Linked DNA regions of Homo sapiens: regions 1, 3, 4 and 5 are each linked to region 2. Evidence: promoter capture Hi-C in 16 types of primary human blood cells and fetal thymus (Javierre and others, 2016). All regions are on one chromosome and are shown on one strand. Each heading gives the region's core, a stretch centred on a gene start or on the middle of the fragment in contact. The rest is flanking DNA. Distances are from core to core; before and after follow the strand shown.

Region 1 (4,940 bases), core at 2,143-4,642, 950 kb after region 2:
TGCACCTGCCTCTAGTCCCAGCTGCTTGGGAGGTTGAGGCAGGAGGATCACTTGAACCCAGGAGTTCTGGGCTGTAGTGTGCTCTACTGATTGGGTGTCCACACTAAGTTTGGCATCAATATGATGACCTCCTGGGAGCAGATGACCACCAGCTTGCCTATGTAGGGGTGAACCAGAGCAGGTCAAAACTCCCATGCTGGTAGGGCTCACATCTGTAATCCCGGCACTTTGGGAGGCCAAGGTGGGCAGATCACCTGAGGTCAGGAGTTCAGGACCAGCCTGGCCAACATGGTGACACCCCGTCTCTACTGAAATTACAAAATTAGCTGGGCACGGTGGTGCATGCTTGTAATCTCAGCAATTTTGGAGGCTGAGGCAGTAGAATCACTTGAGCCTGGGAGGCGGAGGTTACAGTGAGCCTAGATTGTGCCAATGTACTCCAGCCTATGTGACAAGAGTAAAACTCAACCTCAAAAAAAAAAAAAAAACTCCCATGCTGATCATTAGTGGGATCGTGCCTATGAATAGCCACTGTGCTCCAGCCTGGGCAACACAGCGAGACACCATCTCTAAAAAATAAAAGCCACTGGAGAAAGCCAGGGTACACAGTGCATAGCAGCACTGTCTCATTGAAACAATGCAAGTCATATAAATAACTTTAAATATTCTGGTAGCCCCATTTAAAAAACAAGAAGAGGCCCAGGCACAGTGGCTCATGCCTGTAATCCCAGCACTTTGGGAGGCTGAGGTGGGCAGATCAGTTGAGGCCAGCCTGCCCAACATGGCGAAACCATGTCTCTGCTAAAAATACAAAAATTAGCTGGGTGCAGTGGCATGCACCTGTAATCCCAGCTACTCGGGAGGCTGAGGCACGAGAATTGCTTGAGCCTGGGAGGCGTCAGTGAGCCAAGATTGCACCACTGCACTCTAGCCTGGGTGACAGAGCAAGACTGTCTCAAAAAGAAAGAAAACGCAAGAAGAAACAGGTGAAACTAAAATTTACCCCTATATATCTCAAATGTTAGCAGTTTAACATACCAATATGAAAAATTATTGAGATATTTGCATTCTTTCTGTTACGTGACATCTTCAGAATCTAGTGTGCATCTTTTTTTTTTTTTTTTTTTTTGAGACGGAGCCTCCCTCTGTCACCCAGGCTGGAGTGCAATGGCACAATCTTGGCTCACTGCAACCTCCGCCTCCCGGGTTCAAGTGATTCTCCTACCTCAGCCTCCCGAGTACCTGGGACTACAGGCATGTGCCACCACGCCTGGCTAATTTTGTAGTTTTAGTAGAGATGGGGTTTCTCCATGTTGGTCAGGCTGGTCTCGAACTCCTGACCTCATGTGATCCGCCCGCCTCGGCCTCCCAGAGTGCTGGGATTACAGGCGTGAGCCACCACTCCCAGCCTAGTGTGCATCTTATACTTGCATCACATCTCAGAGTTGACCATAGCGACATTTCAAGTGCCCATTTGACACGTGCAGCTCAACAGTTTGGTCTTTGGTCAGCTGTTTTGTCCTCCTTCCCTTTACTACCTGTGTCCTCCTGCCTTTCCCTGTGTTCCTATCCTTGTGTAGCATCTTGTGCTCAAGGAAACCAAATGTGCTAGGAAGATCTGCTGCTTTAGGTAATTGGAATGACAGGTGCCTACTCATTTCAGGCTCCCTAGGATATTATTCTTATCACAGAACATTACATTCAGGAAAGAGATTATGGCCAGTCTATTCCAGTTCAGTTCAGTAAAAATGGAATCTGGCACATGCACTTTTGCAGTCCTTTGAAAGTGCTAGATTGGCATAATCACCAAGAAACGGTAATGTGAGTTCTTTCCTCTCCACTCAGCCCCTCTTCATCAGACCTCCTTCAGCGACACAGGGGAAATACAGCAAGGATTGGGTACTACAGAGAGGTGCCCACAGTATCACTTCTCTCCTAAGCCAGGGAAAGAGATGAGATTCCTCTCCCTGATGGTGCCAAGCCAGTGGAAGGGCACTGTGGGGGTTACACCCTCCTGAGTCTAGAGGACCTTGCTTACTACGCCTCAGTTATTGGCACACAAGTAGAAGATCAAGTGGGAAAACAGGTGAATGCAGGTGAAATAAGAATGAGGGAGAGTTCTGAGGCTAGTTCAGAAAAGGCCATACAGCGTCTGTCTTTTTTTGCTGGAACACTTGTGCTTGGAGCCCTGAGACACCACTTGAGAAACCCACTGGCCCAAGGCCACCATGCTGTGAGGATGAAGCCACACAGGCTCTGCTCAGGGTGTCAGTTCACTCCTAGTCTGAATCTCCCCAGCCTCATCAGGCCTGTGACAGAACAGTCTTCAGATGATTCCAGCCTCCCAGCTTTCAAGGTACCTCAGCCTTCAAGTTCCCAGCTGAGGCCCCACACATGGTGGAGCCGACCAAAGTCATAAAGTCATCCTTGAATGTGCCTTTTTTTTTTTTTTGAGACAGAGTCTAGCTCTGTTGCCCAGGCCGGAGTGCAATGGCATGATCAAGGCTCACTGCAGCCTCCACCTCCTGGGCTCAAGTAATTCTCCTGCCTCAGCCTCCCAAGTAGCTGTGATTACAGGTGTGTGCCACCGTGCCTGGCTAATTTTTGTATTTTTAGTAGAGACAAGGTTTCACCATGTTGGCCAGGCTGGTCTCAAACTCCTGACCTCAGGTGATCCACCCGCCTTGGTCTCCCAAAGTGCTGGGATTACAGGAGCAAGTCACTGCACCCAGCCTGAGGTCTGTTTTTTTAACTGTGCAGGCAGCCGCTCCACTCCACACTGCCTCTTGCTCCTCCTCTGGCCATGTGATATGTCTGCTCCTACTTCCCCTTCCACCATGAGTAAAAGCTTCCTGAGGCCTCCCCAGAAGCTGAGCAGATGCCAGTGCCCTGCTTCCTGTACAGCCTGCAGAACTATGAGCCTGTTAAACCTCTCTTTTTTATAAATTACTCAATCTCAGGCATTTCTTGATAGTAACACAAGAACGGCCTAACACAGTGAGCACAGTTTCTGGGTGTGCAGCCATGAGACTGAGAGGAAGGTCTGGTTCTTTAGCAAGGAAAGGTTCTGTCTCTTTCTGGATGCAAAGGGAGAAGTATGCTGCCTACCACCTGCAAGCACAGAGAGGACCATCCTGTACAGAGTCAACTCAGAGAAGACAGCAAAGCCCAAACTCATCTACAATTCAAGCAGGGGCCCCACCCTGGACCTTGCATCCTGGTCTTTCACAGCAAATAAATAATAACCTCAGCTGGGCGTGGTGGCTCATGCCTGTAATCCCAGCACTTTGGGAGGCTTGCTCGAACCCAGGAGTTCAAGACCAGCCTGGGCAACATAGTGAGACCCCATCTATACAACAGATAAAAAATTAGCCAGTCATGGTAGCGTGTGCCTGTACTCCCAGCTACGCAGTAGGCTAAGGCAGGACTATCACTTGAACCCAGGTATTTGAGGCTGCAGTGAGGTATGGTTTCACCACTGCACTCCAGACCATGTTTCTAAAAAAAAAAAAAGTAAATAATATCCTAAAGTGTATACAATTTTGAGTTGGATTTCTGGTGACTGGCAGCCAAAAATGCATCTTGAGTGGAAGAATCGTAGAAAGTAGAGAATTAAGTATCCTTTGGCTTCCCATTGTGTTTCTGAAAAAAAGTCAGGAAAGCTGGTGCGATGGTTTGGATATTTGTCCCCTCCAAATCTCATGTTGAAATGTGATCCCCAGTGTTGGAGGTGGGGCCTAGTGTGAGGTATGTGGGCTATGGGGTGGATCCCACATGAATGGCTTAGTGCTGTCCTCATGGTAATGAGTGAGTTCTCCCTTTATGAGTTCACCCAAGAGATGGTTATTTAAAGGAGCCTGGCACTTCCTCCCCTCTCTCTTGTTTTCTCTCTCACTATATGATGCACCAGCTCCCCTTTGCCTTCCGCCATGATTGGAAGCTTCCTGAGGCCTCCCCATAGTGCAGATGCCAGCACTATGCTTCCTGTACAGCCTGCAGAACCGTGAGCCAAATAAATCTCTTTTCTTTGTAAATTACCCATCCTCAGGTATTCCTTTATAGCCGTGTAAACAGACTAACACAGCCAGGGCCGTTGGAAGTTTTGTGGAAGCACTGGGTAGGACTGACGTGTGGTAGTCACTGTCCCTCCTGAGTCTCCTCTTATACTGTATGTGAGAGGGAGATTCTTTCAGGCAGCAAGTATTTTCCAAGCACCAACTATAGCTCAGGCACAATTCCAGACTCTGGCAACTAAACTGATGAAACTCGTGGTCTCAGGAGCTTATATTTTGGTGGGGAAATGGAAAATAGAGAAATTAGGATGTTATGGGCACATTACACAGTAAGTGTTATGTAGAAACAAAATGGTCCAAGAAGGGAAACCCCAGGCTGGGCGCAGTGGCTCAAGCCTGTAATCCCAGCACTTTGTGAGGCCAAGGCAGGCAGATTGCCTGAGGTCGAGAGTTCAAGACCAGCCTGGCCAACATGGAGAAACCCCGTCTCTACTAAAAACACAAAATTAGCCGGGCATGGTGGCACGTGCCTGTACTCCCAGCTACTAGGGAGGCTGAGGCAGGAGAATCTCTTGAAACCGGAAGGCAGAGGTTGAAGTGAGCCGAGTTCGCACAATTGCACTCCAGCCTGGGCAACAAGAGCGAAACTCCGCCTCAAAAAAAAAAAAAAAAAAGAAGAAGGGAAACCCCAAGTCCTCTGGACTTTTTTTTTTTTTTTTTTTTTTTTTTTTTTGAGGTAGGGTTTTGCTTTGTCACGAAGGCTGTAGCTTCAACCTCCTGGGCTCAAATGATCTATCTGTCCCACCTCAGCCTCCTGAGTAGGTGGGACTACAGGCATGTGCCACCATGCCTGGTTAACTTTTAAATTTTTTTAGAGATGAGGTCTTGCTATGTTGCCCAGGCTGGTCTCAAACTCCTGGGCCCAAG
Region 2 (4,901 bases), core at 1,346-3,845:
ATAGTGAAACCCCGTCTCTACTAAAAATACAAAAATTAGCCAGGCGTGGTGGTGGGCACCTGTAATCCCAGCTACTAGAGAGGCTGAGGCAGGAGAATCAATTGAACCCAGGAGGTGGAGGTTGCAGTGAGCCTAGATCCCCGCCATTGCAAGTCAGCCTGGGCAACAAGAGCAAAACTCCATCTCAAAAACAAACAAAAAAAAAAGTAATGCAAACTCATCTGGGTTTTGGTCATGTCCTGCATCTCCTGAGGAAGGGCAGAGGGCTGAGGAGCAGTCCTTGGGAAGCACAAACATGTGAGAATCCAGGTTGGCTCTATGCCCTACCCAGTAACGTAGCCCCAAATCTCTGCCTTAGCTGACATGGGGGCACACTGAAGTCTTGTGAAGGGTAGAAGGGACCATGTTGAGGCAGGGACAACCTTGCCTACAGGTGATTCAGGTAATCCCACAAGTTCAGCCACAGAAAACAAGCATGACCATGTGCAAAGACTTCCACGAGACCACTTGTCACAGGGTTGTTTTAATTCAAGCAACATCAACATACACCAGAAACTTGTGAAGAAAATTATGGCACATTTGTATAACTTCAGTGTCAAGAAGCCAGCGGTATTTTGCAGATAATGCAAGGTCTGTAGATCGAAAATTAAGTTGGGTGTCTTCCTTTAGTGTACAAACACCTTGGATGTTTGAGGAAATCCAAAGACAAGGTTCTAGGCATTTTATACGTGTTAACTCATGTATTATGTTAATTCTCACAATAATCCTTTGGAACTAGTACGATCACCATCCCTGCCTTATTGAGGAGGAAATGGGGTACAGAGAGCTTAAGCAACTTGCCAGTGTCATGCAGCAGGGAAGCGCTGGAGGCAGGGCTCCAACCCACGCAGCCTTGCTGCATGTTTGTGGAATGAACACAGGACTCAGGCACACAACCATCTGGCTGAGGCTCCATGAGCAGCCAGGAGCCTGGTCCCAATGCAGTCTCCTTATAGGCACAAATGGGGTGCCCCTTGAGACAGGAATAATAAAGGTGGTCACAGGAGAACGGAAAATTCCAGGCAACAGTTTCACATGACTAGCAAAGGAAACCGTTGAAATCGCTGCGTAAGCTAGGGGCGGATAAGACTCTGAAAACCAGGGTGTGGGCCAAGCTGGCTAAAGCCGACTGGACCCAACATGGTGCTGGATTCGACCCGTTTCACCTAGGACCTCTCATTATGTGCTCATTAACATACTAAGTCACACACCCACTGTGACAGCTCTGGGGAACACCCGTATTTAGTATAAAAATGTGTGGCACCGCAGTACCAAGAAATGTTTACCTTTTTCCAAGAATCTTCATGAATATTCCACCCCTTGGTTAAATAAATATTTAAAGGTAGCTCCAAACCCCGCTGGGCGTGATGCTCTGTGGTATGCCTGCACTTTTCTTTCTTCAGTACGTACTTATTCCCGTCGCAATGAATCTCCACACTTTGTTCTGCTCATCCATGAATTCCTTCTCACGACAGTGTCAAGAGCCTGGACACCAGTCAGGGTCGAGGCCTCACCAGCATCTTGGGGCCTCACTGGGCACAGACGCGTGAGCGCCCGGCCTGCAGACCTGACTCTGGCAGCCGCTCAGGCCCTCAGAGGGAGAGATGGAAGCTGGCAGGACGCAGTTGCTACCGCGCGGACCCGGCCCCCGACCAGCCTTGGCCCCTCGCGCGCCGGGACAGGGCCACAAATGACTGCACCTGGGCTTCGCTGGCCCAGGCACCACGCGACTCTAAGCGCGCCCAAAGCGACCCTCTGCGCAAACTACCCCCGGGGACGACGTCACCCGTGAGGTCCCGCGGCGCCTCCTCCTAAAGCTCGGCTGGGAAACCGTCCGCTTCCCCAAGACTTGGGGGCTTGTGGCCGAGTTGTTTTAGTTTTCCTGTAGGATTCACGGGTGGCTGAGGCAAACACGCTTGAAGGCCTAAGACTTTTAAGTCTCTTCCGCACCCTCTCTTCTGTCTCTTCCACCTGGAGGATGACCGCTTTTTTGGGGGTTTTGTTGTTGTTTTGAGACGGAGTCTCGCTCTGTCGCCCAGGCTGGATTGTAGTGGCGCCATCTCCGCTCACTGCAACCTCCGCCTCCCGGGTTCAAGCGATTCTCCTGCCTCAGCCTCCCGAGTAGCTGGGATTACAGGCGCCCACCACCATGCCCGGCTGATTTTTGTATTTTTAGTAGAGACGGGGTTTCGCCACGTTGGTCAGGCTAATATCAAACTCCTGACCTCAGGTGATCCGCCCTCCTCGGCCTCCCAAAGTGCTGGGATGACAGGCGTGAGCCACCGCGCCCGGCCGGGATGACTGTTATTAACAATTCCCGGCGTGGTTTCTAGCACCAGCCCACCTACCACACCCCACCTCGCTTGAGGCTGAATGGGTAACAGGATGAACCCGCCCCTGGGCTGGTTTTCTCTGAACCCTAACTCCTGCCGTTACGCCCCACCAGCTCTAGGCCAGGAACTCTATGTGCCCCGGCCACGCTAGAGCCCGTACCTAGACCCGTAGGTCGGGAGGCCTGCGCCCGGCACTGCGCAGACGCAGCGTGCTGTGCCCAGAACTCTTCTGTTCCCAGGAGAATCAGGGGAGTCGGCGCCGGAAGGGGCGGGTCCGAGCTGAGATTTCCAGAGCCATGGGAGCCGGAAGTCCAAGGAACTGTACCTCCATCATGACGACTCCGGTTACGTAAAAACATTCAAACAGAAAATGCTGGCCAGGCTCATGCCTGTAATCCCAGCACTTTGGGAGGCCGAGGCGGGAGGATCGCTTGTGCCCAGGAGTTGGAGACCAGCCTGGGCAACATAGTGAGACCCTCCCCCCACCCATCTCTACAAAAAATTTTAAAATTAGCTAGCTGAGATCATGCCACTGCACTCCAGCCTGGACAACAAAGTGAGACTATGTCTCAAAAAAATTTAAAAATTACCCACGCCTGTAGTGTCAGATAGTCAGGAGGCAGAGGTTGGAGGATGACTTGAGCCTTGGGGATCGAGGGTGTAGTGAGGTATGATCGCACCACTGCACTCCAGCCTGGGCAACAGAGCAAGACCCTGTCTCAAAAACTATATAAAAGAAAAAAGGGCTGGGTCGGTGGCTCACGCCTGTCATGCCAGCACTTTGGGAGGCCGAGGCGGGTAGATCACCTGAGGTCAGGAGTTTGAGACCAGCCTGACCAACAAGGTGAAACCCTGTCTCTACTAAAAATACAAAAATTAGCTGGCCATGATGGTGGGTGCCTGTAATCCCAGCTACTGGGGAGGCTGAGGCAGGAGAATCACTTGAACCCCAGAGGTGGAGGTTGCAGTGAGCCGAGATCACACCACTGCACTCCAGCCTGGGCGACAGAGCGAGAGACTCCGTCTCAAAAAAAAAAAAAAAAAAAAAAAAACAGAAAAAAGGCCGGGCACGGTGGCTCACTCCTGTAATTCCAGAACTTTGGGAGGCCAAGGCGGGCGGATCAGGAGTTCGAGACTGCCTGGGCAACATAGCGAAACCCCGTCTCTACTAAAAATACAAAAAATTAGCCAGGCGTGGTGGCGGGCTCCTGTAATCCCAGCTACTCAGGAGGCTTAGGCAGGAGAATCACTTGAACCCAGGAAGCAGAGGCTGCAGTGAGCCGAGATCACGCCATTAAACTCCAGCCTCGGTGACAGAGTGAGACTCCATCCCCGCTCCGCTCCCTCACCTCCCGCCAAAAAAAAAAAAGAAAATGCACTGCAATAGAAAAATAAAAGTACTACACTTTGGTCAAACAGGGTAACTACTAGAACGTAAAATGATCTTTTTGAAACTATCCACATTTGTTACACGTGTTGAAAATGTAGGATATATATGTTATATATATACTTATATATGTTATATATACTTATATATGTTATATACTTATATATGTTATGTACTTATATATTATATATACTTATATATGTTATATCTACTTATGTTATATACTTATATATGTTATATATACTTATATATGTTATACATACTTATATGTTATATATACTTATGTTATATACTTATATATGTTATATATACTTATACATGTTATACATACTTATATGTTATATATACTTATATATGTTATATATACTTATATATGCTATATATACTTATATATGCTATGTATACTTATATATGTTATATATATACTTATATGTATGTTATATATACTTATATATGTTATATATGCTTATATGTATGTTATATATGCTTATATGTTATATATACTTACATATGTTATATATACTTACATATGTTATATGTACTTACATATGTTATATATATACATATATGTTATATATATATAATTATATATATATAAAACAAAAAGCACGGTTACTACAAAGAAAACAGGTAAACATTAAGTGGAGTAAAAGTATATCCTGTTATATAAGGGACTTGAACATGTCTGGGCATGGTGGCTCAAGCCTGTAATCCCAGCACTTTGGGAGGCTGAGGCGGGTGGATTACTGGAGGTCAGGAGTTCGAGACCTGGGCAACATAGCAAGACCTTGTCTCTATTAAAAAATAGATAGATAGATAGATAGATAGATACATAGAACATCAAAAGAGGGAGAGAGAAAGCAGACAGATGTGGCAAAATATACACAATTGGTAAATTTGGGTGAAGGGAATATAAGTTATTTCTACTAATCTTGCAATTCTTATGTATATTTGCAATGATTTCTAAATAAAAGTTTTTAATTACCAATTGAAATAAAGTAAAATAAGTCACTATCTAGCCTTTTCTAGACAAATATTTTAAACTCTTACACAGAGATAAGTTAATCAAGAAACGTATTTCCTGGAAAAACCCGTGATATGGGTGGAGCCACCTGGGAATAAAAGGTCGGAACATCATAATC
Region 3 (4,396 bases), core at 1,070-3,569, 940 kb before region 2:
CACCTGTAATACCAGCATTTTGGGAGGCCGAGGAGGGCAAATCACCTGAGGTCAGGAATTCGAGACCAGTCTGAACAACATGGTGAAACCCCATCTCTACTAAAAATACAAAATTAGCCAGGCTTGGTGGCACACACCTGTAGTCCTAGCTACTGGGGAGGCTGAGGCAGGAGTATTGCTTGAACCCAGGAGGTGGAGGCTACAGTGACAAGAGATTGTGCCACTGCACTCCAGCCTGGGTGACGGAGTGAGACTCCATCTCAATAAAAAAAAAAAAAAGAAAGAAATGAGAAGAAAGTGACATTGTGACATTTCTTGCACCACATTTGAGTTTTGCGTGTGTGTGTGTGTGTGTGTGTGTGTGTGTGTGTGTAAGAGAGATAGAGCAAGCTTTGGACCTACCCCGTTTACTTTTCACAAACTAGCTAATGGGCAGTGAGGCAAGGACTTCCCACTGTTTCTCTGACCCTCCATTGGGCTCCAGGTAACCCAGCTTCAAGCTCTCAGCGTCGCCTCCTCAGTCCTGTCTCCCGTGCAGTGGGCGTCACTCCCTCCTCCTTTCTCCTTCCCAGCAAAGCCATTCACACCTTCTTGTCAGTTTGTCTTCTATAAAAGCTTCCCCCTCCTCCTCCTCCCCTGCCCACTCCTCCTCCTCCTCCTCCTCCTCCTCCTCGTTGTTGTCATCCTCTGGATGAGAAGTGAGGGACTTGGAGAAACAGCGGAGGGGGCTCAGGAGCCCACCAGGGTGTCTGTAATCCCCCACGTCGTCTTCTCACTCCATCCCTCTCCTGGGGTCTCCCTTTCCCCTTGGGATGAGAAAGGATGGGGTAAGGGCTGATGGGGATGTGTAAAGACAGGACAGAGATACAAGTGCCAGCCACAAACCGACAGAATGCTGGAAGGACCTTGGAGGCAATGTGTCCTCCACGGTGGAGAGGAGGAGACAGAACCCAGCCAGGACCAGGGCGTCCCCTCTGTCCCTTAGACAGCAAAGGGCAACAGCAAGAGTAAAACCTCTTCCAAGGTTCTTTCCTCTGGAAAGCAGGTGACGTCAGGGCAAAGAGAGAGCGTGCTGCAGAGACAGATAGATCAACACACATGACAGGAGAGAGACGCAGCAACGACACACTCCTTATTCGTTCACCCAACAAGTATTGAGTGAGCTCCGGGCACTGTTTTAGGGGCTGCTGTGAGGTTTCTCATCTTTGGAGCTATTGACTTTCGGGGCTGGGTCCTTCCCATCGGGGAGGCCTTTCCTGAGCACTGTGGGAGGCTGAGCCGCGTCCCTGGCTTCCACCCACGAGATGCCGGGAGTCCCTCCCAAGTCCCAAGTAAAGATGTCTCCAGCCGGGCGCGGTGGCTCACGCCTGTAATCCCAGCACTTTGAGAGGCTGAGGCGGGAAGATCACGAGGTCAGGAGTTCAAGACTAGCCTGGCCAACATAGTAAAACTCCGTCTGTCTCTACTAAAAATACAAAAAATTAGCCGGGCGTGGTGGCGGGCGCCTGTCGTCCCAGCTACTCGGGAGGCTGAGGCAGGAGAATGGCGTGAACCCGGGAGGCACAGCTTGTAGTGAGCCGAGATCACAGCACTGCACTCCAGCCTGGGCGACAGTGCGAGACTCCGTCTCAAAACAAAAACAAAAAAAACGAACAAACAAAACTGTCTCCAGACTTGGTCACATGTCCTGGGGTGAGGCTGGGGCAGCATCGGGGCAGAGTCACTCCTGGTTGAGAGCTTCCGGCCTAGGGACGCAGCCATGAACAAGACACAGTTGACACCCCTCATGGGGTCTCCTTTAGCCAGGGTGGTAGGTGGGGGGCGGGGAGATAGACAGCTCACAAGTAAACAAATAAACAGGGTCTACCGTGCAAGACAGAAGAAATGCAACTCAGTGAGGGAGCTGCGGAGGCTTGGAGGGATTGATGGGGGCAGAGGGGACAGGGCTACGGAGACACCAGTGGCAGGTGGAGACAACCAAGGAAGACACAGGTCAAGGCCCAGACGCAGATAAGAGGGAGGGAGGGAGCCCTCGAATAGCTGCAAAGTCTGGAACAGGACAGCTGGAAGATAAAGGGGCACAGAAGGAGGGGGAAGGGCAGGGTCTACCAGGGGAAACCAAGGCACAGCAGCATTTCCCGCGATGAAGTGTGTGTTTTGACCTCACAGACCAGCGTTTGAAAGCCCCTGGAGTGGATGACTGTTCCCCCACCTCCATCCTCTTCACTCCCTCTCCCTTCTTCTAATCCCCTCCCTTTCCCCCCTCCCTTCTATTGTCTCCTCAGAAGGCATAAAAGCTCAGGGGGCGTGAAAGAGTCCAGGCGCTGGAGCGAGGAGCCAGAGAGAGCTGCGGAGAGCTGCCAGCTGCAGCGGGGTGAGAGCCTAGGCCAGGAGGGCAGAGGGGCGGATCCCAGCTGCACCGGGGTGAGAGCCTAGGCCAGGAGGGCACAGGGTCGGCTGCCAGCTGCAGCGGGGTGAGAGCCTAGGCCAGGAGGGCAGAGGGGCGGATGCCAGCTGCAGCGGGGTGAGAGCCTAGGCCAGGAGGGCACAGGGGCGGATGCCAGCTGCAGCGGGGTGAGAGCCTAGGCCAGGAGGGCAGAGGGGCGGATCCCAGCTGCACCGGGGTGAGAGCCTAGGCCAGGAGGGCAGAGGGGCGGATCCCAGCTGCACCGGGGTGAGAGCCTAGGCCAGGAGGGCAGAGGGGCGGATCCCAGCTGCACCGGGGTGAGAGCCTAGGCCAGGAGGGCAGAGGGGCGGATGCCAGCTGCAGCGGGGTGAGAGCCTAGGCCAGGAGGGCAGAGGGGCGGATCCCAGCTGCACGGGGGTGAGAGCCTAGGCCAGGAGGGCAGAGGGGCGGATGCCAGCTGCAGCGGGGTGAGAGCCTAGGCCAGGAGGGCAGAGGGGTGGATGCCAGCTGCACCGGGGTGAGAGCCTAGGCCAGGAGGGCAGAGGGGTGGATCCAAGCTGCACTGGGGTGAGAGCCTAGGCCAGGAGGGCAGAGGGGTGGAGGGAGTGAGGGGCTCCTGGGAGAGTGATGGGGGGCTTGAAGGGATGGGGATAACAGGAGAAACCCCAGCATTGGTGGCAGGGAAAAGGTGAGGGGCAGGTAAGGGGACGGAAAGGTTTGAAGATGGAGTGGTGGAGGCAGTGGGGCAGAAGGCATGGGCGCTGGGGGACCAGGTCGGCCTGATCCGATGATGGGGGAAGGAGAGGCTTAATTGCTTGCACACGTCCAAACTCCTCAAGATGTGTACATTAAATGTGCGCCATTTTTGTATCTCGATGATGCCTCCATAAAGCTAAAAAATAAATTCCTCTGTCCTTATCGGAAATGCACCTGGCCCCCGCTTCGGAAAATGACTGGCCGCTCTCTCCTTGCAGCGTGTTCCGCAGCTGTAGGCACCTGTCGTCCTGCCTTCGATGGCTCCTCCCTCCGTCCCCCTGGTCCTCCTCCTCGTCCTCTTGCTGAGCCTGGCAGAGACTCCAGCATCCGCACCTGCCCACCGGGTAACGCCTCCCTAAGTTCCTCGGAAACAACAGTGTCCCCAAATCCCTGCCCTCTGGGAAGAGTTTTTAAAAATGCTTCTGGCTTGTGTCAAGGGTCCTGGGGAAGAAGCTCAAATCCTGAAAATATGAGAAGAAATATTGCGTGTCTCTACTAAAAACACAAAAATTAGCCGGGCATGGTGGCACGTGCCTGTAGTCCCAGCTACTCAGGAGGCTGAGGCAGGAGAATCGCTTGAACCTGGCAGGCGGAGGTTGCAGCGAGCCGAGATTGTGCCACTGCACTCCAGCCTGGGTGACAGAGCGAGACTCCATCTCAAAAAAAAAAAAAAAAAAGAAGAAATGGGGTTTCACCATGTTGGCTAGGCTGGTCTTGAACTCCTGACCTCCTGGCTTCAAGTGATCCACCCGCCTTGGCCTCCCAAAGTACTGGGATCACAGGTGTCAGCCACGGCACCCAGTCTGGGACGACACTTTGAAAACCTTTGATCACACACCTCCACAGCATGGGCTGTAGAGGCTGGGTTGAGTTTGAAATCCGGGATCTGCGACTTTCTAGCTGTGTGACTTCAGTCACATTGCCTAACCTCTCTGGTCTCTGAGTGGATCTTCTTTGTCCAATTCCAGCACTGTGAGAGTTAACAGTTAACTCGGATGGCAGGCAGCTCTCATTATTTAGCCAAGAGGATTAAATAATTAAGAGATGTTGGTCCAGGGATACACAGTTTCAGTTAGACAGGGGAAATAAACTAGATCTCTGGTACAGCATGGTGGCTGTTGTTCATAACAATGTGTTGTATACTTGAAAATTGCTAAGAGAGTAGATGGATGTTAGGTGTTCTCACCACAAAAAAGCTAAGCACATGACGTAATGTAGAGGGTAATTACCTTG
Region 4 (4,259 bases), core at 453-2,952, 930 kb after region 2:
TCCACGGAGCTTCAATCTGTCTGGAGTCCCAGAATCCCTCCACAGAATCCTGTCTGGATCCACACTGTGGTGTGGCTGCCACGGCCTCCTGGCTCCAGAGGCGGCTGGGCCAAGGCAGGAAGGTGCCCCCCTGTGTGTGGCCTCACGTCTCAGTGTCTGACTGTGCTGCCCTGTGCCCAGGGAGGAGAATGAGGACCACATGGACTCTGCCCACACGGAGCTGGCTGCTACGCCCACCCTCAGAGGCGTCAGGAGACACAGCCTGGCCCCCTCAGGGCTGAAGATGCCTCCATTCACCTGTGGACCTTGCTTTCTAGATTTCAGCATCAATAGACCTGTCTTCCTGCATGCTTTTAGTTGGATCTGGGTCACTGTGGAGACAGAGGTATCTGCCATCTCTGTGGCCTCTGGAGAGTGACGTCTCCCTGCTGGCAGGGCCGGTTCTCACCTGCAGTTTTCCTTGTGTATCGGAGCTCTTTCTTAACTTTCTATTTTCCCCCAATTCTTTAAGCAGTCGATTGGCACAGAGTTTTCCCACGCTGGTCGGCCTGCCCCAAGAGCCATCTCTGACCCAAGCCACGCAACTCTGACGTAGCCCTAGCCATGGGACTCCCTTGGGTGGTGCTTGGGCTGCGCGCCACGGGGGCTGCAGTGGATTTACTGTGTCAGGGATGAGCCTGGCTCGGGTTGGTGGGGCTCTGAAGCACATTTGGGGTTCTTTGTAGCTTCTAATGTGAGGTTTGAGTCCAGTGCACCCACAGCAGCATACCCTTCTCACCCCTTGTGGTGTTGCAGGCTCAGGCCCCTGGGGTCCTTTAACAAGCAGGCTGGTCACCGAGGCACGAAGACGAGGCACAGGGCATCCCCTGGGGCTTCAAGGGCAACACCCGCAGTGCTTAGGGTTTACCCTGTGCCCTCTGGGTGGGGTGGCCTCCCTGCACTCGGCAGCATGGTCGGGCTGGCGAGGGCGTGGGCAGGCAGTGTCCTGTGGCCACCTCCACCCTCCTGCCCAGCCGGCTGTGTCACACTCATATTTTTAAGGTCAGGTTGGTTCCTGGTAAAAATGTCCCTCCGGGGGCCTCCAAGCATAGGATTTGGAAGACATAGGAATGGCACAGGCAGCCAGGAAAGCAGCTGCGCTCAGACGATGCCTTCTCCATTACTTGAAGCTTCTTTTTGTTCAGCCATTAAAGAAACTTGACAAAATAGGAACAGGAGATATTTCTCAATTGTAAACCTTTGTGCAGGGACAGTTGGCTTCCAAAGCCTTTCAGATTTCAATTATTTGAGAAAGAAGTTTGTTTTAGATCCTTAATATTTATGAATTCTCAAAAAAAATCAATGTATAGACATTTTATAGCTTTAACCCTGCAAGTGTTTCAAGCTGTGTTTCTTAATTAGTATACTAACTGCCCTGGGGCATGTAGGTAAGTGTAAATGATGTGGTTTGAGCCAAGTTTTCATCTGTAATCCCACTGCTTGAGGTGGCCAAGGCCGGAGGATAAGCCAAGCCCAGGAGTTGGAGACCAGGCTGGACGATGGAGCGAGACCATGTTACTTTCTTTTTCTTTTTTCTGAGATGGAGTCTTGCTCTGTTGCCCAGGCTGGAGTGCCGTGGCATGATCTCGGCTCACTGCAACCTCCACCTCCTGGGTTCAAATGATTCTCCTGCCCCACAGACAAACGCCACTATGCCTGGCTAATTTTTGTACTTTTAGTAGAGATGGGGTTTCATTATGTTGGCCAGGCTGGTCTCGAATTCCTGACCTCAAGTGATCTACCTGCCTTGGCCTCCCAAAGTGCCAGGATGATGGCGTGAGCCACCGAGGCCGGCCCTTTTTACCTTTTTTTGAGACGGGGTCTCACTCTGTCACCCAGACTGGAGTGCAGTAGCACAGTTATAGCTCACTGCAGCCTTGACCACCGAGGCTCAAGTGATCCTCCCATCTCAGCTAGAATTACAGGCTTGAGCCACAGTGCCTGGTAATTTTCTAATTTTGTAGAGTTGGGACTTAGCTATGTTGCCTACACTGGTCTTGAACTCCTGTTCTCAAGCAATTCTCCAGCCTCAGCCTTAGCCTCCCAAAGTGGTGGGATTCTAGGTGTGAGCCACTGTGCCTGGCCTTTAAAATTTTCAATCTCCCCAAAGCCTCCAAAATATTCTTTAGTTAGTTCTTCAGAAGTAGCTGGGCTCAATCCACCCACGAAAACCTTTCGGGGGGTTCTTTCCCTTTTCAAGCTTTGGCTCTTTGCAGCAGGGGTGGGGGGTGATCCTATCAATTTGCCATCCAGCTCCTGTTCTTTCCGTTCCAAGGCCTTAAGAGCACTAGCAGCGTTTTCCAAAAGCACAGATACAAATCCCCTTGATCTTCCAGTAACTGTTTTAACTGTGCAATCTGCAACTTCCCTAAGTCAAGACACATCGTCAGATCTTTTTGCTTGTAACACTGTACCATCATCCGGCAGATCTTGGATCCCTCTGCGATTTCCTCTGTATTGGTTGTGGTACTCATTCAGGTCTTTGCTGGTGGAGAAGTTGTAGGCGGGGGGTGCTGGTGCACATTCAGGGTCAGGCAGCAGCTTATGCTACGGAGTTGGATTTCAAATGGTGGTGGAAGAGAGTCATTATAATTTTACGAGATCACTGTGGTGTGTGTGGTCCATTGTTGACTGAAACACCATTACCCCATGGGGAGGGGCTGCCTGAAGCCTGTAAGGGTAGCTGCCCGAAGCCCTTTGAGGGTAGCACTCTAAGGTCCCTGAGATCCCATGGGCGTATCTCCCTGAGGCCCTGGCGGGAATGACTGTTGGAACCTCAGTGGTAAGTGATGCCAGTGTCCTCTGTGGAACACACTGCTGGGGTCCCTGGTGGTTCCCACCGCGTAGCTGATACTCGTGGCCCCTGCTTTTCTTCTTTGTGCATAGCGATCTCCTGGCATCTCAGGTATGCATTATCTCACCGGTGAGCTTTTTCTTGTGGGCATTCTCGGGTTTTTTCACTTTACTCCACTGTGTTGCTGCAGATCTTCAATGGGTCCTTGAGCGTTCTGGGCTATTCTGGCTTGTGAATATCTGTCTGTAGTTGATTTGTGTGTGGGTAGTGGGAGGGGGAAATGAAGGTTGGTATCTCCTACTCCACCATCTTGGTGATGTCGCTCCACTCTTTCCTTTTTTTTTTTTCCAAAATAACCCAGCACCATTGCCCCAACTAAAACCATTAAGATAATTCCTGGCCGGACACGGTGGTTCATGCCTGTAATCCCAGCACTTTGGGAGGCCGAGGTGGGTGGATCACTAGAGGTCAGGAGTTCAGGACCAGGCTGGCCAGCATGGTGAAGCCTCGTCTCTACCAAAAAATACAAAAATTAGCTGGGTGTGGTGGCACGTGCCTATAGTCCCAGCTACTCGGGAGGCTGAGGCATAAGAATCGCTTGAACCCAGCGGGTGGAGGTTGCAGTAAGCCAAGATTGCGCCACTGCACTCCAGCCTGGGCGAAAGAGTGAGACCCTGTCTCTAAATAAATAAATAAAATAGAGCTATTAAGATAATTCCTCAACAACAGTAAGTTGCCAGGCATTCATATTTCCTCCTTTATTCTTGTTTCATTTTGTTTTGTTTGAGACGGCGTCTCGCTCTGTCGCCAGGCTGCAGTGCAGTGGTGCAATCTCAGCTCACTGCAACCTCCGCCTCCTGGGTTCAAACGATTCTCCTGCCTCAGCCTCCCGAGTAGCTGGGACTACAGGTGCACGCCACCACACTCAGCTAATTTTTGTATTTTTAGTAGAGATGGGGTTTCACCATGTTGGCCTAGATGGTCTCGATATCCTGACCTCTTCATCCTCCCGCTTCTGCCTCCCAAAGTGCTGGGATTACAGGCGTGAGCCACCACGCCTGGCCCCTTATTCTTGTTTTCTTTTTCTTGGTTGCTTGGTTTGCATCAGGACTCTCCCAGGGTGTGACATGCATCTCCCTCCCGCCTCCAATCTCCCCACCTGTCATCCCTGAAACAATAAACCTGGGTCCACCTCTGGAAGGATAAGAACCCAGATCTGTGGCCAGTGGCTCACCGGGGCTATGGGGATGTGTTTGCATTTGAAGGTACAGATAGGGCCCCGGGAATGTCTTGGTTTCTGTGCCTGACCCAAGTGTGTCGATAGCTCCTCTGATGCCCCCTGAGAGTCAGGGGAACTAAGCATGCCCCTCTCTCCACACATACATGCCACCCACTCTTCTCTCCACGCAGCCCCTCTGCTGCCCTT
Region 5 (4,564 bases), core at 10-2,509, 730 kb before region 2:
TGGCTCTTTTCCCAACCGCCAAATATACAAAAAGCTCTACAGCCCAAACTGAGGCTTTGTGCATGCCACTTCATGGAGCATGCCTTGCATCAACAAATGGGATAGAGTTGGAAGGAACAGTAAGAGACAAATTACACACAGCACGCCCAGTGCTCCATTATCAGCACATAAATGTGTCCTTCCATAGAGACACAGCAGTGCACAAAGCTGCATGTCCAATAATATTTGCTAAATAGGAGAACTGAAAATTAGTACGTAAGTAGGCAAGTCCACAAGTAGCCAAGAGGTTGAATCATTTTTGGCACAGCCATATAATGGGATGCCAAGTGACTATCAAAAATGACTATCAAAAACTGACAAGCAAAGATATTAACTACTGAATCCTTTGAGAACATTCAGCAAAAAGAAGTCAAACTCACTAACACACAGGCTAAAAACAAAACAAAACAAAAAAATTGGAAGAAAAAACACCCAAGTATTCGCAGTGTTGTCATTTAACCAGTTCTTGAGCTCACTGTTAAACAAGAAGTACTCTGTAAAGGAGTATATAAGGTGCCTACTGCATTACAAACATTTGGTTCTAAGTAACGTGTAAGTGAAATAATTATGAATGTTGCTTAATATGATGTAATAGGCAGCTTTTCCTTATTATGACCACTTTTATAAGCATTATTTGTATTAACTGCACGATATCCTATTTACAAAGGATGGCCTGTGATCCACTCAAGTGTTTCCCCATTGCTGGACATAGAATTTGAACATATAAAATGTTCCCAAGTATAAGTTTTTCTAAACTAGCGGTTCTAAGTCTTCTGGGGTCTTGTAACTCTCTGAGAACCTCATGAAACAAGATTTCCTCTCAGATTAAAAAAAAAAAAAGGCACGCATAACAGTGAATGCAAAACATCCGCAATTTCAGGGGGTCGGAGACCCCTGCGCACCCACCTAAGGGGTCCATGCACCTGGGCTATGAGGCTGGAAGCAGAAAGGGGGCGCCAGAAAGCGCACGCCGCGAGGGCCGGCGGGAAATGTAGTCTCACGCCGGTAAAGCCACAGAGCGACGATGAGGCGAGACGTCTGCGTTCTTCTCAGGCCTGAGACCCAACCGGCCCGGGCACCAGCTCCTGCTGGACCCCAGAGCGCCTGGAAAGCTCCGGAACCTCTCACCTGCCGCCTCCTCGGGTCCAAGTGCCACCGCGGCCGCGCCCCCGGCAGCCCAGGGCGCGCTTCCACCACGGTACCGGTGGATTCGCCGTGCGCAGCCGGAAGATGGCGCAGACGCACAAAGCACACCGATGCTGCGCCATGATAGGGCCGGCGCCGCAGTGTCTTCCGGGAAACATAGTCTTTAGGCGTAAAGGCAGCAGCCCGGCCTTGAAGCCGGATCTCGCGATGTTTCAGGGTGAGCCGGACGCAGGCGTGCCTGCGCAGTGCGCGGAGGAGTGCTGTTCGTGTGTTCGAGTCCCTGGGTTGCTTCCTGGGGTCTGTGGTGCTGGGTGTGCTATCTGCGTGTGATTCTCTAGCGAGAGATTGTGGGCGAGTGACCGAGTGGGCAAGGGGCCGTCACTGTGTGTGCGTGATTTTGACAGTGTGTGGTGGTAGCTTCTGACTCCGCGTGGGTCGTTGAATGTATGACTGGGACCGTTTAGCGGTGGATACACAACTGTGTGCGGCTGTGGAAGATTGCCTCATCCGTTACGTTCCCATTTCCGTGGAACAACAGTTTTACCAGAAGGTTTCGAAGGAACCTTAAAGTTTGGAAGCGTAAGAGTTTATCTGGTAACTAATTTTAAACATTACATCTATGGTGAGTTAAATGTGGGTTATGAAGGAGAACGCAAAATAAAAACGTTATAAAGATGTAAAGGAGTTTTATGGGGCGGCATCTCTTGGGCAAATATCAGACCGCCGTAGGTAGTTGTTAATTCTCTCTTGTTTTTAGGCGGCTTTGGTGTCATCAAATGTGAGAAGCCCTGGACTTTACACATCCCGAGCCAGTGTGATCCAGTATGATTGGGAGTCCGAGTGCCAGATGCCGGTCAGGACCTGTTATGCTGGGTCTCAGAATGCGGAAACTCTCCCTGTCCGAGGTGGAACAGTTTGTCCTTGAGTGAGGACTGGAGTCCTGAGTGACTCTTTTGATTTGATCCTGTTTCCCTCAAACCTGGTGAGCTCTATGGTGTAATAAATGGTTAAGAGTGTGAACCCTTAACCATCTCTAAGACTGGAGCCAGAATGCCTGAACTCCAGTCTTAGAGATGTGCCTCGGTCTCCACATTTGAAAGTGAGGATGATTGTGGCATCTAATTCATTGAGTTGTTGGGGAGGAGTAACTGATATGTAAAATAATGCTACTGCTGCTGGATAAGGATGCTAATATGACTGAAGCTAATGCTTTCTTTCTGCAAAGATGCTTTTTCCAAAACACACCATATTGCCTCTTTACACATTCTTCAGGAGAGGGTAGAGGCTGCATTTTCCTTGTAGGTGCGGTGATGTGGTGGAAAGCACACTTTTAGAATTAGACAGATGTGGATTCAAATAGCATTTCAGCCATTTATTAGTTTCTTCGTGCCTATCTCGGTTTTGTTTTGTTTTTTTTTTTTTGTCCATAAAAGGAAGAATGTAATGCTGGGCTTGCAGCTTTGTCCTGAGGGTCAAATAAAATGATTTAATAATATAAGCAAAGCTCAGAGGTTGGTTATTGCTGATTACTGATATTAAAAGACAACTTCAGCAAGGATGGTTGAATTTCACACTTGTGAGCGGACAGTTGAGGAGACAGTTGTAGATTTATCCTACTTGACCTTATTTGTGGTTCAAGACAGTGTTGCGAGTTCAAGAGGAGAGGGTAGATGCAAAAAGTCATCATCTTTCCTATGTTCTCTGATCTTGGGAAGGGGCGAGTGGCTCTAGTTTCCCTTTAACATCCCACTGTGTTGAGTGTGTCTATATGTACATGCGTCAGTATTTGCTTATGGAGGAAAGGAAGGAAAAAGACCAAACAGGTACAAAGCCAGCCATCTCTCAGGCTAACTTTCTTCTATACCATTTTTACTTTCTCACATTCATTAATCTGCCAAAGAGAAATTTAGAGGATGATGAAATGGCCACTTCTGACTCTGAACCAAGCCTCTGAAGTCATACACCATTATACTCTTGGTCACAAAATCAGCTGTGAGTCTAAGTAGGTGGAGGCTACACAAGAGTATAAGTACTAGGAGGCAGGGATCATTCAGGGTCGTCTTAGAGGGTGGCTTCCAGTTTCTTCCTTTTAAGAGTATGAGAATGCTCTGAGCTAGCCTCTCCATTCCATGGAATCCATAGGTCTTTTGTCAGCCACTTCCCAGTACACATTCCTGTGCCAAAGCACATGCAGAGTTTGTAGGGTCCAGCCCCACAGGGTCGGTTGGTTTCTCCCCGTGTGCGGAGACGAGAGATTGTAGAAATAAAGACGCAAGACAGAGATAAAAGAAAAGACAGCTGGGCCCAGGGGACCACTACCACCAAGACGCGGAGACTGGTAGTGGCCCCGAATGCCAGGCTGCGCTGATATTTATTGGATACAAGACAAAGGGGCAGGATAAGGAGTGTGAGCCATCTCCAATGATAGGTAAGGCCACATGGGTCACATGTCCACTGGACAGGGGGCCCTTTCCTGCCTGGCAGCCGAGGCAGAGAGAGAGAGGAGAAAGAGAGAGAGAGCTTACACCATTATTTCTACTTATTAGAGACTTAGTACTTTCACTGGTTTGCTACTGCTAACTAAACGGCAGAGCCAGGTGTACAGGATGGAACATGAAGGTGGACTAGGAGCGTGACCACTGAAGCACAGCATCACAGGGAGACGGTTAGGCCTCCGGATAACTGCAGGTGGGCCTGAGGCCCTCCACAAGTGGTGGAGGAGTAGAGTCTTCTCTAAACTCCCCCGGGGAAAGGGAGACTCCCTTTCCCGGTCCGCTACGTAGCAGGTGTTTTTCCTTGACACTAACACTACTGCTAGACCACGGTCCGCTTGGCAACGGGCATCTTCCCAGATGCTGGCATCACCGCTAGACCAAGGAGCCCTCTGGTGGCCCTGTCTGGGCATAACAGAAGGCTCGCACTCTTGTCTTCTGGTCACTTCTCACTATGTCTCCTCAGCTCCTATCTCTATATGGCCTGGCTTTTCCCAGGTTATGATTATAGAGTGAGGATTATTATAATTTGGAATAAAGAGTAATTGCTACCAACTAATGATTAATGATATTCATATATAATCATATCTAAGATCTATATCTGGTATAACTATTCTTGTTTTATATTTTATTATACTGGAACAGCTCGTGTCCTCGGTCTCTTGCCTTGGCACCTGGGTGGCTTGCCGCCCACAGAGTTACTCCAGCAGCTCCCTCTCCTGTTATCCCCAGCCATATCCGTGCTTCTGCCAGATTCCTTCTGTTTCAGGATCACCCATTATCACTTGAATGAGATCAACTGTGGGGAGGTGGGCCATATTCTGTTGTGCATAGTAATCCAAGCAAGGAATCACACAACAAAGTGGGTTCTAACCCAATCTTAGCTA

Evidence for each region. The method cuts DNA at HindIII sites, captures the fragments that hold promoters and counts their contacts. A CHiCAGO score of 5 or more calls a contact.
Region 1: a contact is called between a fragment that was not itself captured here and the fragment with the promoter of USP29 in region 2, in 2 of 17 cell types (activated CD4 T cells and erythroblasts). The highest score is 9.5, in activated CD4 T cells.
Region 3: a contact is called between the fragment with the promoter of GALP here and the fragment with the promoter of USP29 in region 2, in 1 of 17 cell types (total CD4 T cells). The highest score is 5.0, in total CD4 T cells.
Region 4: a fragment that was not itself captured here is called in contact with the fragment with the promoter of USP29 in region 2 in 1 of 17 cell types (activated CD4 T cells); the score reaches 5.6 in activated CD4 T cells.
Region 5: the fragment with the promoter of ZNF582 here is called in contact with the fragment with the promoter of USP29 in region 2 in 6 of 17 cell types (fetal thymus, erythroblasts, naive CD8 T cells and 3 more); the score reaches 7.4 in fetal thymus.

What each region holds. Positions count from the first base shown.
Region 1 is chr19:58,069,982-58,074,921 of GRCh38, forward strand. It overlaps the pseudogene RN7SL526P. Among named protein-coding and RNA genes, the nearest start is that of ZNF135, 13 kb to the left of the region's middle. The HindIII fragment of the contact is 1,092 bases long and covers 2,847-3,938 here.
Region 2 is chr19:57,117,390-57,122,290 of GRCh38, forward strand. It overlaps USP29 (ubiquitin specific peptidase 29), which reads left to right and starts at 2,596. Exons shown (of 4, transcript NM_020903.3): 1 at 2,596-2,840. The HindIII fragment of the contact is 8,956 bases long and covers 1-4,901 here.
Region 3 is chr19:56,173,689-56,178,084 of GRCh38, forward strand. GALP (galanin like peptide) reads left to right here and starts at 2,320. Exons shown (of 6, transcript NM_033106.4): 1 at 2,320-2,374; 2 at 3,382-3,507. The coding sequence starts at 3,421. RefSeq lists enhancers at 1,455-2,005, 2,006-2,556. The HindIII fragment of the contact is 6,092 bases long and covers 614-4,396 here.
Region 4 is chr19:58,046,922-58,051,180 of GRCh38, forward strand. All of the region lies in intron 4 of ZSCAN1 (zinc finger and SCAN domain containing 1), which reads left to right. It also overlaps the pseudogene LETM1P2 and the pseudogene HNRNPDLP4. Among named protein-coding and RNA genes, the nearest start is that of ZNF135, 10 kb to the right of the region's middle. The HindIII fragment of the contact is 1,070 bases long and covers 1,168-2,237 here.
Region 5 is chr19:56,392,275-56,396,838 of GRCh38, forward strand. It overlaps ZNF582 (zinc finger protein 582), which reads right to left and starts at 1,260. Exons shown (of 5, transcript NM_001320371.4): 1 at 946-1,260. It overlaps ZNF582-DT (ZNF582 divergent transcript), which reads left to right and starts at 1,402. Exons shown (of 2, transcript NR_037160.1): 1 at 1,402-1,779. The HindIII fragment of the contact is 9,401 bases long and covers 1-4,564 here.